Linked DNA regions of Homo sapiens: region 1 is linked to region 2. Evidence: promoter capture Hi-C in 16 types of primary human blood cells and fetal thymus (Javierre and others, 2016). All regions are on one chromosome and are shown on one strand. Each heading gives the region's core, a stretch centred on a gene start or on the middle of the fragment in contact. The rest is flanking DNA. Distances are from core to core; before and after follow the strand shown.

What was found. The method cuts DNA at HindIII sites, captures the fragments that hold promoters and counts their contacts. A CHiCAGO score of 5 or more calls a contact.
Region 1: a fragment that was not itself captured here is called in contact with the fragment with the promoter of PTPN13 in region 2 in 3 of 17 cell types (M1 macrophages, M2 macrophages and megakaryocytes); the score reaches 6.0 in M1 macrophages.

Annotation. Positions count from the first base shown.
Region 1 is chr4:86,499,856-86,502,717 of GRCh38, forward strand. It overlaps a transcript of MAPK10 not described here. Among named protein-coding and RNA genes, the nearest start is that of MIR4452, 41 kb to the right of the region's middle. The HindIII fragment of the contact is 2,178 bases long and covers 321-2,498 here.
Region 2 is chr4:86,592,530-86,595,624 of GRCh38, forward strand. PTPN13 (protein tyrosine phosphatase non-receptor type 13) reads left to right here and starts at 1,786. Exons shown (of 48, transcript NM_080683.3): 1 at 1,786-2,260. It also overlaps a transcript of MAPK10 not described here. RefSeq lists an enhancer at 1,437-2,023. The HindIII fragment of the contact is 4,151 bases long and covers 1-3,095 here.

The sequences.
Region 1 (2,862 bases), core at 160-2,659, 93 kb before region 2:
TCCTCCCTGATTAGAAGACATATATGATGTCTGTCTGGGATCCCAGCAACCATCTTGGACCACGTGAAAACCTTGGGGATGGAAATCACATGCTATGGATGGCGAAGAAAACTAAAAGCGCCTGAGTCACTGATACCACTTTAGAGCTACCATATAAGCCTCTCTTAAGCCTTCCTTTTATGAAAGAAATATAAAATTCCATCTTGCTGAATTCCTATCTGTGTTACTAGCAATTGAACAACTGATTTGCCAGCCATCTGAATTACCCAGATTGTCTGATAATTGGTCAATACCCACTTCATTTTAGGATATAGAAATAAAGCTTCAAAACTGGCCATAATAGCTATGGTGATTTGATCCTCAAAACTAAAAATTAGGTCACACAATAAGAATAGTCTGAATCCACTTATGGGAGAAGCAGATCAGCTTATTTGAAATCGGGTTGTGCTAGAATACCCAGATCATATGATTCTATTTTCAGTTATTAAGTTCAAGCACGTTGCAGTAATCCTGACCTGATTTTCCACTTCATCAGGAAAAAGATAAGTTTGCGTACTGTGTGGTACACACTCTTCTAACTAGAAACTTCAGTTTAATACACAATCTCTGAAATTTATTTCACAAAGTGTTCTGAGTTTCCTGAAACTCAGGTTCCCCATAAACTTTGGGGGTTTTGTTGTAATTACACCTATGCTCCTTTCTCTGTGCTCAGGAAGAAGCATTATTGGCACCTGTATCCTGTAGAACTCAGTTCTATATATTTAATATTTGCCTTACCTAAGCCCTCTATATATGTTTCCCCATAAAAGGATAATAATACTAACCTTTCCTCCAGTGTGTGTTGTGATGTTTAATTAATGTTTACAAAGCATTTAGTGAGCTGCAGATGAAAGACTCTAAGGAAGCATAAAGCAATATCATTAGACTGACTCATCAGCTACTTTTATTAGCTATGCAAAATGAAAGCCATGTTGCTACAGCCAAAATAGTTATGGATACACATTAGGTAAAAAATATAAATTCCAGCACAATTTAAATCTATATACCACATCTACAAAGCAAACACCTGAAGCTCCTTAATAGGACAATTTTTTTCTCTGATAAGTATTTGAAATCTGTTAACATTTAAAAATATAAACAGATTAGAAGGTTAGGGTAATGGTAAAAACATGATACTTTGGTAAACATATGAAACTCTTTACACTTTCTTATGTGAATGAAGATTTCATTTGCAATGATGTGAAACTCTCTACGATCTGAAAAAAAAAAAAAAAAAAAAAAAAAACTTTTAATTGATTCTTTTTCATTTGAAATTAGCAATAATGACCTGAATTCCACAGGAGATAAAAACAATAAATTGAAAACCTTGAAAATTAGTTCAGGTAATAGTTCTTGAGTTTCTCTGTGCCCTATGTTCAGGTGCAGGCTATTTTATATATAGTCTTCAACAGCTTTCAACCAAGTGGTATACAACTGTATTTATTTAATAAGCATATATTAATATTGTATATTTTTTCTGAACCAAGGAATCATTTACACTATACATTCTAGTCTACAATGTAAAACTAAAATATCATTTTATTGTGTGACATGGAGCTCTTTTTCAAGTTAAAACAGCTCTGTATCCTAGTGTTTCCTTGCTGTGTAGCAGAATGAGAATTAGGAACTAGGAAGAGCCCAGCTGGTAAGGAGGGTTCGCTTTTTTATAATTAGTTGGGTTAAACCCATAATATCCATCTATAACTTATCCAGGGTATTCTGTTTCAAAGAGAAGTAATAGTCTTAAAACAGAAAACATGCATTTGTATGCATGTGTGTGTGCATGCACACACACACACACACACACACTACTGTGCAGTCAAAGAACAGACTCCATGTCAGTTTTGAAAGACATACCAACTGGGTTCAACATTACATTGTGTCAGAGAATGAAGTGATGACTATCCTTCACTCAAAAAATGCATAGTTGAATTTTTCCTCCAACTTCCAATTTGGTTAATTTGAGAACTTGTGGTTTAGTAGGTTACATGGAAGATTAAGGAGACTCACATCCATAATTGTCCCAAAAAAGCACAAAGTTAACATTCTCCTGAGTTGAAAGTAAAGACTATTATGGAAATTAATTAATCCCTTAACAACAACCACAACAAAATGGCAGGGCACTGCATGGCAGCACTGCAGGGTCTTTTAAAGGTAAATGGATTTCATGCCATTTTAACCAGTTCAAGTATAAAGTCATCCAAGTTTTAGAAATATTCTGAAACCATTTTCTTCTGCCTCTTTAACGGCTACTTTTTGATCTCCATTTTTTTTCCTCCTCTAAATGTGTTGTGACTCATACATTTACAACTTGGATGTCCCCAAAATAGTAACCACCCCCATTCTATTGCCATATATTTTTGTGTTATAAATTAAAATGGGAAGAATACCCATTCAGAATATAATGGAAAACAGCATCCCCCAACTCGCTCCTGAAGTATCTTCATGAATTCTAAAGAAGCTTAACATTATTCTGAGTCATTTCTTGCTTGGATTTCTTGCTTCTACTGAATTCTCCAAAGTAAAGCTAAATTCTCCTTAGCTTTACTTTGCATTGACTTAATAATATGAAGTACATTTCTCTTGACCATTCCTTTGAAACTCACAAAACTTCTTGTTTCTCTTTATATCACTCCTATACCTCAGCATGCTCTGAGTTTTATTTTCCACTGTAATATGGCCCATCAAGGTGATTGACCAAACAAAAAGTTTTTGAGGCATATTCTTGATAGCTTTTAAATGTACATTGCCTCTCCTCCATATGTCAAATTAACTTTCCCACTACAGAGAATTCTTCTGGCACCTATAATTAATATTCTCTTT
Region 2 (3,095 bases), core at 536-3,035:
GAACTTTCTTTCAGAGGCAAACAGAGACAGATGTTTCATGAAAGTTTCTGTTCTTCCCAACCTGCCTTTCCTACCTCCCTGATAGATGATCCAGAACATTTAAAAATGGGGGAAGAACTGAGAAAAGGGCTCCAATCATCCACTTGTGTTTCCCATCCAAGGAGCCTGGCCTGTTATTTACTTTCACCACTTATCCCTGCTGCTGCTGTTTAGTTTTTGTTGTTCCCCTCAACTGACTTTCCTCATCTTTGCTGCATTCATCAAAGCCCAGTGTAAATTCCCCTCTTCCATAAACTGAGGAATCCAGCCCATTTTACATAGCAAACTTTCTCTTAGCTGCTACCTACTCAAAGTTTGGCTGCACATTTTAGCTATAATTGTTCTCAAATTGTTTCAAGAGTGCTAGTTTTCTTTCTTAGGCTCCAGGTTAGCTCCTTGGGAGCGGGGACTTAGCTTAAAATCCTGCTGTGTATTTTCCGTTGTGTTTAGCCCTATGAGTAATCACATTCAATGCATACTTGTAAGGCATATTTGACTGAAGATATCTATCATAGTTATTCATTTAGTAAATGATATAATGAAAACTCAAGTGCTCGCCAAAGATAAATCATTACTATTAATTCCCTCATTCATCATACATGTATGGCAGCCTCAGGGGCTAGGGAACCTAGGATTGCTGCTTTGACTTTTTTTGGGGAAGCCAAATAAGCCTCAGATCTCTCCACTTTGGAGCCAGCCATGAAATTCAGATTTACCTAGGGCTCAACATTAAGGGTCTCAGACTAAATTTATCTTCAGGTACCCTTTCCAGAGTGGACCAGTTTACCTTATACCTCTGAGAATAACCCAAAACTTTCAAAACTCAAATCACAGGATATTATTTGTTCATGAATTCAGCAAGACTCTCTTGTTTAACTATTGAAACTCAAATATTTCGGCTTGCAGCAAGGAGGGGTACAGCTGTCTGGATATACCTTGGCCAAATTTCAGTGTATATAGAAAAGTGGGAGGTTATCGACTATGTTAAACCTTTTCCTTAAATTTTCAAACTTCGGGATTATTTTAGTCTCATAGATAAAATAACAAGGCAAGTATTTACAAACTTTTTTCAAAAATATGAGAATTTCAGTTTTCCCTAGGGCATTTGGCGTTGTGCTGTCACCACACTTTTGAAGATAGCTTTACAACCGTGGGAAAACTCACCGGGCTTTTTTCGTTGACCCCGCCATTTCTAAGTTGCTATATTGCTGCAAGGAGCTGGCAAAGCCATGCTCTTCCTCTCCCCCATTCTCCTCTTCCTTTCAAAGACCAAAGCGCCCCGTGAGAATATAGAAACAAGGCTGAGAGGCAGCGAAGAGTAAGGGAGGAGCCAGCACTTACGCATTTTTCACTCTCCTCCTCACTCCCTAGGGTCATAGTTTTGATTCTGAAGTTAGAAGTGTGGGGGTCGTCGGCTGCATTTTCAACTTGGCCTAAAAGTTGGAGTTCACCACACTGCAGGCGCTAGGAACTCTGCCGCTCGGTCACCAACCTGAGCCTCTGGCTAGTCCGAAGAACGCGAAAAGCCAGGCCCAAGGCACTGGTTGTCATGGCAACCGGGGCGCTGGTCTCCCTGGCGACCTCGTCCCTAGGGAGGAGGTGGAGCTGGATGCCAGGCGGGCCAATGAGGTCGAGGGGAGCTCGGGGTGGGAGATCTGCGGTCCTCCCAGTGCCGGGGAATGGTTGAGTGACAGGACCGGGGGGGCGGAGCCGGCGCGGCTGCCCGAGGTGGAGCCCCAGTGGTGCGAGTAGCTCCAGCGGCCACGCTGAGGCGAGGGTGACACACCATGCTCACGGCCCCTGGAGACCGTCGTGCTGGCGAGCCGTGCTCCGTAGCTCCCCGGTCCGCCTCGGCAGCGGTCAGAGTCGCCTACAGGAGTTGAGCCGCCCGCGCCAGAAGGTTTTGGCGAAGCTCTTGGAGAGGCGTCGAGCACAGTAGGGCGGCGGGGGTGCGTTGAGCGCTCGGGGGTCAGGCAGTCGGCCGGGATCGCCGCTGGGGAGCGTTTCCGAGGCGAGGAGGAGGAGGAGGAGATGCTGCTCCTCTTCTCCCCCTCCCCAGGCTCCTTCTACAGCTCCTTCAGCCCACGCCCGCAGCCGCTTGTGGGAGAAGTGGTGGTGGCTCTCGGCGCCCGCGGCGGCTGCCGGCGGCCCGCCCCGACGCCGCGTCCCTGCAGCCCTCGCCCGGCGCTCCAGTAGCAGGACCCGGTCTCGGGACCAGCCGGTAAGGACGAGAGCCGCCCTGGGCTCTGCGCTGCATGTGCAGAAGTGCAAAACAAAGTACATTGCGCTCGTTCTCTTCCTCCTCTCTCTGCTTTCGCTCCAGTCCCTAAACCCAACTCCTCGGTTGCCCTGGTAGAAGGAACTTTTCTTTGGTTTTGGTGGTGGGTGTTTTTGTACGTTAGAGTGGGGGTGGGGTGACTGGAGTGGGGAAGAATGAGATGAAACTCCATTGCTAATTAGGTAGATCCATCTCCTCTGCGGAAGAAAGCCGGATTCTCGGGAATGAAACCCACAGGGGGAGTAAGAGATTGTGGGGTAATAGGGAGTGACATTGCCCCGTCGTGCTTGCACAGCTCCGCTCTGTGCGTGCTTAAGGGAAGGGCTCCCGGAGTCTGTTTCTAATTTCTGCAAATGATTGTGGAGATGGTGTGGTTAGAGGCCGCCCAGAAGAATGTGTGTGTAAGGGCTCGAGAAGGGGGTGGGATGGCGGGGAAGCAGAGGAAGAGGGGGCAGAGGGAGAGACACTGTCTGATGCAAGGTCTTTTATTGCTTTTCTTCTGCTTGCTAAAGTTAACACTCTACCCTCCGGCCCCCTAGCCCCACCGCTTTGCTCATTACGTGATACTGTAAGAGCAGACAGCTGGGAAGCTAAAGTTAAACCAAAGTCAAGAAAATTCTTACAAAGTTTAATTTCCTTCTGTTGTGAATATAATGGAGAGAGGAGGATGGGGAGAAATATCACTAAGAGATTTACAGCAATACAGTTTTCATTGGCCATACACGTATATGATCGACACCACCGCACACTTCCAACTAATCTGTTCGACAGCCTTGTG